Regions from separate parts of the Homo sapiens genome. Here region 2 is linked to region 1. The links are contacts of gene promoters, found by promoter capture Hi-C in blood cells and fetal thymus (Javierre and others, 2016). All regions are on one chromosome and are shown on one strand. Each heading gives the region's core, a stretch centred on a gene start or on the middle of the fragment in contact. The rest is flanking DNA. Distances are from core to core; before and after follow the strand shown. Region 1 holds the start of ELOVL7 (ELOVL fatty acid elongase 7). Region 2 overlaps LINC03122 (long intergenic non-protein coding RNA 3122).

Region 1 (5,957 bases), core at 2,445-4,944:
GTTAAATCCATATGATACTGACATAGAGTAAGAAGTTGACAGGGTTCAATTTTCTCTTAAAGAATAAAATATAGTGAAAAAAATTGTAATTATTCACAAGGGTTATCGTTGCCTCAAGAGAATACCAGAGGCACTCTACAAATTACTAATAATTTAGTAAAGACAAAGGATTTACAACCATTAAACAAAAATTAGCGTTCTTATATTTACATTTAGAAAATGTAATTTAAAAATACATATACCAGGCCAGGCACGGTGGTTTACACCTGTAATCCCAGCACTTTGGGAGGCTGAAGAAGGAGGTTCTTGAGACCAGGAGTTTGAGACCAGTCTGGGAAACATAGCAAGATCCCGTCTCTACAAAAAATTAAAAAATTAGCCCCCCATGGTGGTGCATGCCTGTAGTCCTAGCTTCTCTGATGCTGAGGCTGGAAGATCGCTTGAGCCCAGAAGTTCAAGGCTGCAGTGAGCTATGATTGTGTCACTGCACTGTAGCCTGGGCAACAGAGTGAGACCCTGTCTTAAAAAAAAAAAACGTTGATAGTAGTGGCAATAATTATAAGGTTCCTAAGAATAAGCATAATAAAATATGTGAAAGACCAACTATGGAGATATATGTTCATGGATGGGTCACCTCAATATCATAAAGATGACAGGTTATCCCTAAATAACTTTAAGACAATTAAAATAAAAATCCTGCCATAGCTTTTCATTGAAAACAAGAAAGAAAGCTTCTTTTCACATTTACATAAAATAGTAAAAGTAAAAGAAAATATAAGGCAGGACACATAGACAGTGGAATGGAATCAAGAGCCTAAACACAGAACCCCGTGTGTGAGAATTTAGCAAATGGGGAAAGGAGGGATAATCTCTTCTCTATTCTCACTCTTGGTGCTCTTAGCCATTCTCATGCCTTTCAGTGTCATCTGGAAACTGACTACATCCAGATTTATATTGCTAGCCCAGACCTCTCTTTCTTGACCTCCAGACTAGTGTAATCAACTACCTACTTGACATTCATTCCCATTTAGATAGGTAACAGGTATCTCAAATTAAAGCAATGCCAAACAACTCCTGACCTGCCCTTCTCCCTACATTTTTCTTTCACAGTTTTTTTTTCTTTCAGTAAATGGCATTTTTTTTCTTCGAGTTACCCAAGGCAAACACCCTGGAGTCATCCTTGACCTCTTTTTTCTCTCTCTCATAGCCCATATCAAATTCTCAGGAAATCCTGTTAATATTACCTTCAGAATGTATTTTTTTAAATCTTCTTTCACTACTACCAACTTGGTCAAAGCCACCTTTATCTCTCATCTGGATTTCCCAAGAGCCTCCTGATCATCGTCTTACTTCTGTCCTTCTTCTCTGCCTCCATACCCCATGCCCTATTCTCAAAAAAGTTGCCAAAATACTCTTGAAAATGTCAAAGTATGACAGTTTTTTACTCAAAATGCTTCCTTAACTCTTTGACCTCATTTCTTACTGTCCTCACTCACTGAAATTCATCTGACATCTCCCCTTTGCTGGTCTATGAATGGAATATCCCACACCACACCCCCAGAGCTTTTAGCCTTGCCATTCCCTTTGAGTGGAATGCTGTTACTGGATAGGCACACAGGTGTGTCACCTTACCTGTTCAAAATCTGGGCTGAAATGCCTGCTTCCACTGGGGCCTTCCCTAACCACTTTAACATTTAACACAACTCCCCACCTCCAAAAGTCTCCATCCCCTTCCCTTCTTTATTTTTCTTCATAGCACTTATCAAACCCTGAACATCACATTTTTTTTCTTTTTTTTCCTCTTTTTTTTTTTTGAGACAGAGTCTAGCTCTGTCGCCCAGGCTGGAGGAGTGCAGTGGCGAGATCTCTGCTCACTGCAACCTCTGTCTCCCAGGTTCAAGCGACTCTCCTGCCTCAGCCTCCCAAGTCGTTGGGACTACAGGCACGCACCACCACACTCGGCTAATTTTTGTATTTTTAGTAGAGACGGCGTTTCACTGTATTGCACAGTCTGGTCTCGAACTCCTGACCTCACGATCTGCCCGCCTCGGCCTCCCAAAGTGCTGGGATTACAAGCGTGAGCCACTGCGCCTGGCTGAACACTACATTTTTTTTACTTCTTTATTCATGTATTGTCTGTCATCTCCAACTAGAATGAACGTATAGTCCCTGAGAACGGGGAATTTGTTATCTATTGAAACTTCAGGGCCTGGAACATAGCAGCACTCCAGTATTTGTTAAATAAATGAATCCATTTGAGCTTCTGCATATTTGAAATTTCATAAGTATATATAAATGGTAAATTGTGATAGACTCAAAGGCTAGTATCATTAGGCAATTGTCTCCCGTTCCCAAAAGACTTCCTAAGTCTACTAAATGATCTGTTTTTAATATGAAAGCAAAGTTATCTAAAAGAAAGGAGAAATCTTTAGTTTTTTTGACTTCGAGATTCTTTGCAATTTAAGCTTTTTTTTTTTTTTTTTTTTTTTTTTTTGCTTTTCTTTCAATGGACACTTTCGAAGTTTTACATAAAAACATTAAAACCTCTTGTTTAATGTAGTGGGATTAAGCTGCCGAAGGCAATCCCTACATGTGAGGAAAATATGCTTCCGACACCCCAATTTTTTTTTTCTCCCTACCCATCCTCTCTGGTGGTCCTGACGCTCCCAGCCCCTTTTTGTGTTTCTTGATTCCATGCTGAGAACTCGCAATACAAACTCAAAGCCCACATTTGTGAGGTGGTTGGGTCAGGACTGCAACTAAAAATGATTATTGTTTTTTAGGTTTCTGGACAGTTCAACACCAGCCTTTGGTTTTGCCTCAGAAGCAGGGAACTTCTCTAGGCCCCTATTTTGCCTTTCAGCTATTGATGATCCAAATCATACCAGCGATTAGGAGGATCATTACCAGACACAAGGCCAGGTACGTTTAAAAAATAAATAAACCAAGCGCAGGTGCACACTCCGAACGCTCATCCCCACCCCCACTTTCCAATCCAACAGTAGGTAACGAGAAATGAATTTTCTAGACTTTTTTTCCTGCAGCAGTTGCTGTTACCAGAAACAAAGTTAGATGATATACAATCTAATCTTCATTGCTCTAAAAGTCCTCTCCCCATGCCCCCCAGGCTGCCTCAATTCTCTAGTTTCTTATTCCTTATAAGCAGGGGATGGAGCTGAACCAAGTCGGCCTTCCCCTCCCAGGGCCTTCTCCTCTTGGTCTGGCTTCCATTTCAGATGCGAATTAACCCTCCCAATACCCTTTCAGAAGCAAGGAGTCCCCTTTTTCTCCGCCTCCAGCCTCAGCTAGGTTTTCCTCATTTCGGATTTTTCTACTGCTCATTCCCAAATGAGTCACGCATGACGACAATTTCCACTCTGCTATGTCAGCCTGGAGATGTCCCCCAAGTGATGGCATCTGCTCTCGGAAAGAAAGGTCATCGGTGCCACGACCAGCCCCGCTAACCCAGAGCGGCCGGTGGGCCCCAGTCCCGAGAGTCAGGGCGCGCGGCGGAGGCGAGGCCGGGGCGGCCTCCGCCCTCCCGGCCGCTCCCCCTCGCGCCGCCCCGGCTCCTCCCTCCGGCCCTCGGCGGGCACCTGGCGGCGGCGGGCAGGGGGCGGCGCTGCGCGCGTCACGCGGCTGGGTGGGATAGCGGGCAGGTGACACCCGGCGGCCTCCTCCCCTTTCCAACCCAGTCGGCGGCCGGGACAGCGGGGGCCGCTGTGAGGAGCTCCGCGCTCGCGCTGCCAGTCGCCGCCCTCTCTCCCGCGCGCGCCCGGCGCTTCGGCTCCGCTCCCTGTGCGGTGAGTGCGGGGTTCCAGGCCGGCGGGCAGGGGCCAAACTTTCCCGGCGCGCGGAGGAGAAGAGACTGGGGAGGGAGGCAGAGCCGAGGGGAACGGCGTCGGGAGTGGCCGGATGGAGGAACTTGGGCGCGGCGCGCGAGAAGTGGGACCCGGGTGCGGGGGCCCCGGGAGCGGGGCCAGGCCCTCCCTGGGCTCGGGAGGCGCTTGGGAAGTTCTGTCCCCGCTGCCTGCGCGTGGGGAGGACCGAGGCCCTTTTCGCCGGAGCGCGGGGCCGCGGCGCTCACCTGCGCCTTCTCGGGAGCCCCCACCCGGCAGCATCCCGAAGGGAAGGTCGGGCCCGGTGGGCGCGCTGCGGAGCGGAGCCTGGACTGGGGTCCCGCGCGGCGCTGGCCCTGCGGAGCGGAGCGGGAGGGGCAGAGGTGCTCGCCGGCGGGACTGGGAGGGAGAAGGACCTGCTCGACCTTGGACGCGGAGGTCATTTTCCCAGCTCCGGGGTCTGGCCTCGCTAGCCACCCCCCCAAATTCCGGAGCCCCTTTCTTTCTGTTTCCTTCCTTCCCCTTTGGGCGCTTTTTTTGCTCCCGCGGCCAGATGAACTTGGGGCGCTGTCCCTTCGGCTCCCCGAGCCGCATCCTGTCTTGGTGGCTGCTGCTGGCCGGGAGGAGGCTGATGAATACAGAGCCGTGGAACAGGTCGTGCCGGAGATGGAAACAGGAAAGCCTGTTGTTTTGTCGTCCCAGGTATCGTTGGTTCTTTGGGAAATGGGCTTTCCCAGGTTCGTTGGGAAATGGGCTTTCCCAGGTTCGTTGGGAAATGGGCTTTCCCCCTTCAAGTCAGAGCTGTTTCAAACTTCACCCGGTGCGGACAGAGCGCTCTTTGGAGCTCCCTGGGGAACTCGGGACGGGAAGGAGCGGGTCTTTACACCTGTCCTGCTCCCAGTGTAGTTAGTCCCGCGTCGACTGAAGAACAGTTTTAGCGACCCGAGTTCCTCGCCAGTGGTCTTTTCCCTCTTGCTACGATCTCCCCTCGGAAAGCATGTTCACTTAACCCTGTGCTCTCGGATTACCCTTTATTTCATTCCTCACTTTTATTGCTTACGTGCTCCGAAAGGGTCATCGATACCTGGTGGCTGCCTCTGCGTTCTTACCACGCACCCGCTTATTCATTCCCTTTCTTTGTAGTTTCTCTTCGTACTACTGATCAGAAATTGGTCTCCCCAAGGTCACCGAGAACTAAATAAAATCCACCCCTCACCCCGTGGCAGACATTTATCAGTGCTTAGGTGCCAGGCACTGATGTCAGTTCTTGTGTAAAAGCTTTTAATCTTCACAACGATCCTGGGAAGTAGATATTAATATTATTCTCATTTTAATGATGAGGTAACTGAGGCACGGAGAGGTTAAGTAACTTGCCCAAGGCCACACCCATCTCAGCGGTAGGAGATTCCAGCTCTGGGGTTCTGTCTCCAGCACTGGAGCTGTTAACCACTGTCCTACACTGCCTCACCTAGAGTTCGTTTGCTCGTCCTTATTTTCTGAAGTCCCGTGCTGTTTCAGGCATCGTTGACCAGGCTGTCAATCTCAGGTCCCTCTTTTCCTTCTTATGTGTCTTTATACTAGTTTAGGATCCCCACACCCTCCCCCTGCCCCCGCTTTTTTTTTTTTTAAGAAAAATAGATTTTTGGGACTTTGTTACTTCATCTATCACCTGTATTTATCTGGCTTAAGATTCTGTGCTTTCCATGTCTTCTTCAGTTTTAGTGTAACGTCTGTCAGTGCACATTATAATATTCCGCTTGGACTTGCCCGGCTTTTCCCCAAAACAGCTCCAGATGCTCATTTCCATTAAGGGTCCTGCCATTATCCTGGTCTCCAAGGTGCCGTGCCATTCCTCTCCCATTCGTTAAATATCTTCTATCCAATTTTTACATGGTGTCTTCTAGCCTTTATCAGTCTCGCCCACTCCCATCCTCTCTTCACCACTCTCCCTCTTCCCCACTTTGAACACATATGCCCTTCTCTGCTATTTGTTATCATCTTTTATGTTTGCTTTGCACAAAAAGATTGCAAACAGCTTAGGACATTAAATCTTCAGGCCTTACAGCTAGTAGTTGCTTGATAAATGTAGAAGATGATACAGTATAAATTTTGGTAGCA
Region 2 (5,957 bases), core at 1,564-4,063, 860 kb before region 1:
TGATCGTGGCTTCCCAGTGTTGCTGGTGTCTGGTGCCTTGTCACCCTTGTTTGCTCCTTATCCCTTTGCACAGCACTGTAAGACACACCTGATCCACACTCAATTTGTGCCATCTAGTTGAACTCAGGGCCTTGCCACGACCATGGCTGACACATCTACATGCCCAAGATCACTCTACCCGTGAGGCCCAGAGGTGGAGCCATATATTTTCCATTAACTTTCATTGTAAAAGTTAATCTCGCTGAAAATGTCAGATAGTACATTTTTAATATTTATTGACACTAAGATTAGAATTGATAGGTGAGCATGAAAAAGAAAACAAGTATCATACATATTCACCGCACACAAAGATAACCACTATTTTACTGTGTGCATTTTTTCCTATTACAAAAAAATGCATATACTATTGTTTATTGGCTGAAATATTGTGAACAATTTCCTTCATCAATAAATATACTTCAACATCAATACATTTCTTTCTAATACCTCATCAAAATTCTTAATGACTACAGAGTCATATCTAAGCTTGTACCATAGTTTAATGAGTCCCCTATTAGCAAGCATTCGAGTAGGTTCCAATTTTTCCTTGTTATAAACAGTGCTGCAATAAACATCCTTGTACGATATAAAATACTTGAAAATACAACACAATCAACTTAGTCTTCCTAAACCAAAAGCCACACATATACAGCAGCAGCAGCAGGGTCACTCCCTCTCAAGAGATAATAATATCTGCCTCCCCTGCCTCCCACTGATGTTGTGAGGTTCAACTGAGAAAATGTATATGTAAGTTCTTCATAAACTGTAAAGTGTATGGGGTGGTTATTATAGTATGAGCTTATTCTTTCGTAATAACCTTGTAAGACAGCACCATGGATATATCCTCAAGGCACATTGTACTGACAATTTTGCCAGACATAAAGAATTGAAAGCTTACTTTTAGGCTTTTATATATTTATTTCTCTTTAACACAACAAAGAGTTGTGTGTTAGAAAAGCAGCCTTCCTGTACAAGAGTAAACTACCAGCTGGCAGTGCATTCTATCTGTTCTGGTGCATGTCAACTCATTACATCCCCTCGAGAGGACCACTGCAAACAATTGAAGGAATTTGAGTTGCCTAAAAGGTCCCCATGGCTCTGAAAGTCCCTCCTGTAATACTGGTTACCCCAACTCCTAAAGCAGATTAGTCATAATGACTACTTTCCATTCCTTTCCTAATAGTCTCTTCTAAAAAGCACTTTAGGTAACTCTGCTTGATGAAAAAAAAATTGAGCAGCAGTTCCGTTTTTTTTAATGGGAACTTTTATGTCAAGTATAGAAGCTGCACTGACATCTCACATGAAAACCATCCCATCACTCAGCAAGAGGCACTCCATTTTGGATGGATTCTTGATTTACTTTCTGTGAATCTAAGTTCATGGATTTTCTGCTCTTGCTAACGCAATACTATTAAAATGTCAGAACACAGTTTCCTGGAGCAAGAGTCTTATATAGTTTTCAACTCTTAATGAGAGGCATCAGCCAAGTTTTTAAAATCTTGACTTGAATCATGCTTAATGCTATTTGTTAACTAGTGTGAAAAGGTTTCTATGTGTTAAAGTGGTAATGTTCTACCAAGGTAAATGATGTTCTGGGGCATGATATTCTATCTGGTTGCTTGCTTTCTATCCCTATTCGACTTTTTTACAAAAATTCAATGGAGGGGACATAGTCCTACTTTATAATGTTAAGAAGCGTTTTTACTTTAAGTTCGCTCAAATTAAGAAAAGACACAGGGCCGGGTGCTGTGGCTTATGCCTGTAATCCCAGCACTTTGGGAGGCTGAAGCGGGTGGATCATGAGGTCAGGAGATCGAGACCATCCTGGCTAACACAGTGAAACCCCGTCTCTACTAAAAATACAAAAATTAGCTGGGCGTGCTGGCAGGCACCTGTAAACCCAGCTACTCAGGAGGCTGAGGCAGGAGAATCACTTGAACCCGGGAGGCAAAGGCTGCAGTGAGCCGAGATAATGCCACTGCACTCCAGCCTGGGCAACAGAGCGAGACTCCGTTTCAAAAAAAAAAAAAAAAGGAAAGAAAAGAAAGAAAAGATACAAAGCCTCCTCTTGAACTGTTTTCTCAACTACTTGATCATCTGTGATCTGTGTCTCTTCTGGGAAGGACGGACAGGCAAAGCAGGGTCCAGTGTTCATGTGCTGAACGTAACTTGCCCTAACAGCACAAGAAGCCCAAGGGCTTGTTTTCTGTGTGAGTCAAGGAAACACCTGCTACCTCCTGAGACAAGCCCAATCCACGGGTATTGGCAAGGAAAGGTATGCAGGCCTTGCACAGAGATACTGAAATTGCTTTTGTTTCCTTCCTTCCTAATTTTGTCTCTGTAGATGTCTCACTGTTTCCATGGGTTTATTCATTTCTATCACCACCACTACCCCCACTTTTTTTTACAGTTGTGTATTCAAGCAGAGAAAATGAGTTTAAAAAAACAATTATGATAGTGAAAAAAAGAACAGATTCAAAACTGCCATATATGTGAGGCCCATGGGAGTCCCTGATTAATTTTCATTTTTATCATTTAGTTCTGAGATTGGCCTATTTTGGTAAATGTGAGAGCAAGTGTGGTTATGGACTTGATTACCTTGCAACCTTAAAAACAAATAAACCAGCTTGAGTCTTTTTCTTACCATGGTGGGTTCCTGTTAGGCAAGAACTGCAACTCCATGAGCAAGTTGTCCCAACACCACAGGGGCAGACCTTCATCACATAGCAACTCCCAAAATGGGAATTGGAGTGGATTTTAGAACACAGTCAGCTAACATTGAGAACATCATGGTTGTAGGCAAAACTTTCCGTTCCTCTATTTGTCTCTCTGCTCCGTTCTTGGGTCCATATTCTCCTACACATTTTGGATGCTTGAAATACTGATTCTGAAAGAATAATCAATTAGCAAATAGTTACAAGGAGTAGGACACTCAAGGAGTCTAGTTGAAAACAAAGGACCAGCATGATAATTGTACAAAAAGTACTTGTAGAAATTCAAAAGTGGAAAAAACGCTATATATTGGGAAAGATTAGGAAAAGTTACACATAGAACAGCAAGGTGAGCTGAGCCTTAAGTAGGTAGGAAGGTTGGATGAGACTCAGCAGGGTAGACGGGAGAAGCCATGGCATTTGTGGAGTACAAGTTGACAGAGGCAAGGAGGTAGGTTTGGTCAGGTGTGTTAAGGAGACAGTGAGTCTGGTCAGAAAGGAGTTTTCAAGGAGTGGAAATGGCGCCTAAGGGCAGCATATTGTTAGGAACCAGTTTATTGAAAGAAAGCCTCCAAGTGCAGTGGCTCCCACCTGTAATCCCAGCAATTTGGGAGGCCAAGGTGGGCAAATCACTTGAGCTCAAGAGTTTGAGACCAGCCTGGGCAACACAGCAAAACCTCATCTCTACAAAAAGTACAAAAATTAGCCACACGTAGTGACATGCACCTGTAGTTACTTAGGGGGTTGAGGCAGGAGGATCGTTTGCACCCAGGAGGTTGAAGTTGCAGTGAGCCATGATTGTGCCACTGCACTCCAGCTTGGGTGACAAAATGAAAAACAGAAAGAAAGAAGGAAGGAAAGAAAGAAAGAGAGAGAGAGAAAGAAAGAGAGAGAGAGAGAAAAAAGAAAGCCTAGGGGATTTGGATTTCATCCTATAGGCAATAGAAAGTCACGGACATTTTTGGGCAGGAGACAGGCATGGAGGAAGAGAGCTCTAAAGATGACTAATCTGATGCTAATCACCAAAACCAGTGTCAGGAGGCTCCCACACAGTCCAGCTGTGAGGCCATGAAGCCTGAGAGACTGGGATCTGCCCACTGCCAAGAATTCTGGAGGCTGCCCAGGGTCCCCTTGGGAAACACCTTGCAGAGAAAGCCTTTCCCTTTCTCTAAAAATCTCCAAATTCTAATCCCCTACTTTGCCCTTGACAGTCTGGTCGACTATGCTGTACTAAGATGTTAAGAGCAGATTATAACTTAAAGTAGGTACAAGAGAACACAAAATTGCACAGGGAGGAGAAATATTAAGAAGCAGGCTCACTATGAGAAATAACTTTTCATAGAAGCCTTCAGAACATATCTAGTAACATCTAGTTTTCAATAGCAAGAAACAAAAAAACAATTCGAGTGTTCTGGGATGGGGGAAGTTTCACAAGATGCCATTTACTTCAAATTTTTCTTCAAGTGGTGTCATTGGGTTGTGGTTGGTGGCTATGACACCAAGAGAAAGCAAGTTAACTTGGATTAAGTCTCTTTTCTGCTTTCCAAATTACATAGATTTCTCAGGGTCTTTGCCTTCCCCACATCTGGACTCCAGGAATGAATCATTTAAGGAGGCACCCCCGGACAGGAGTTTCTGTTCTCTACAGTTGTTCTAATGTGCACTCTGTACTTCGACTGCCTGTCAGACAAATCAGGGAAGAAAGCAGGAGTCTCTAAAGCAGTCATGCAAATTTCCCCAGGCTTACAGTCTCAAAGAAATTGGGCCTGGCCAAAATGACCTCAGGCATCCACTGAGGAGAAGAACTTGCTTCTAAGAACTTCTCTCCAGCCTTCCATGTTTCCTTCCATGACAGGCATCTGTGGGGTGACAATTAGGTGTGGTGGGTGGGCATTTCTGTGGGCTGGCAGCCTATTTTAACTTCCAACTGTGGGAGTAAGCTTTAACTCTGTGCTAAAATTAGGGGAATCCAGTAACTCCTGTGGTTATTTCAATCAGTTCCCACTTATTGAGTAGCAGCGGCACAGTTAAGTAATAACATGGTAACCTTGCCAAGACATAAATGAAATGCTGAGTGTTGCCCAGTTGGAGCTGAAATCGCTTCAATGATCTAAGCTGAGAGCCAAACCAACAAAAGGGCTGCTGGCCTCTGGGGGTGGGGGAAACTGGGGACATGGAACAGAATTCCCAGAGCAGCTCCTCGGATGCTGGGGGCAGATTTAAGGGAGTGGGCACTGATTGGCCTGGCAATCCAAACTTCACTACAGAAATGCCAACAGCCCCAGGGGTCAGAAAGGCTCAGTTTGCTCTCCCTCCAAGAGAAGGCACGTGGGCTCTGCCAGAGGAGCCCACTGCCAGACCCAGGGCTCCTGGAAAGACCTTGGCCCCTGGTGCTTGAGTTCACACCGTGGCAATGAATGTAATCATGATCCAGAGAAGCAGCTCCTAAGCCACACTATGGAGAACATTGTTCTGATTGGCTCTGCTATGAGAGGATGGTTTTCTCTAGCTGAGAGAGACAGAGGTGCCATGCCAGCTCCCAGTTCAGACCGGCAGGTGCGGTCAAGAGAAGATCAAAAGAAGGAGAAGGGCAGAATCTTGAAGAAAGGTTCTAGCCAGGATGCTTAGGGTACCAAAGGGCCAACAAGCCCTAAGTCATCCCCCTTGGGTTGGGGTTAGAGCTGGGGGAGGGACCTGCAGTGACGGAGGTCATTGATAACTGTAGATTGAGCATGCAAGTTTTCAGTTCATGCAGGACTCTTTAGCTCCCCTTCCCCACTCTTCTGAAAGTCTTAGCCATTTTACTCTGATGGTTAAGTGGACCTGAGTTCAAGTCCAGTGTGCACTCCAGGAGTCAGGGCCTACACAAGGCCAGGAATGCCAGGAGACAGGATTGTTGGTGACCATCTCAGAAGTCTGCCTGCCACACATTATGATCATTTAGCCCAGGGGTAGCCAATCTTTTGGCTCCCCCTGGGCCACATTGGAAGAAGAATTCTCTTGGGCCACACATAAAATACACTAACACCAATGAAAGCTGATAAGCTAATAAAAAAAATGACGGAAAAATCTCATTATGTTTTAAGAAAGTTTATGAATTTGTGTTGGGCCGCATTCAAAGCTGTCCTGGGCTGCCTGCGGGCTGTGGGCCATGGCTTGGCCAAGCTTGATTCAGCCTGAGAACCGAGTGAGCATCAGAGGAGAAGG

What was found. Contacts are between HindIII fragments. The CHiCAGO score rates a contact against its expected background, and 5 or more counts as called.
Region 2: a contact is called between a fragment that was not itself captured here and the fragment with the promoter of ELOVL7 in region 1, in 1 of 17 cell types (total CD8 T cells). The highest score is 5.0, in total CD8 T cells.

Annotation. Positions count from the first base shown.
Region 1 is chr5:60,842,006-60,847,962 of GRCh38, reverse strand. ELOVL7 (ELOVL fatty acid elongase 7) reads left to right here and starts at 3,694. Exons shown (of 9, transcript NM_024930.3): 1 at 3,694-3,803. RefSeq lists silencers at 3,473-3,772, 3,793-3,952, 3,963-4,022. The HindIII fragment of the contact is 2,652 bases long and covers 2,468-5,119 here.
Region 2 is chr5:61,700,835-61,706,791 of GRCh38, reverse strand. The region is part of intron 1 of LINC03122 (long intergenic non-protein coding RNA 3122); the gene reads right to left. Among named protein-coding and RNA genes, the nearest start is that of LINC03152, 5.4 kb to the right of the region's middle. The HindIII fragment of the contact is 3,758 bases long and covers 935-4,692 here.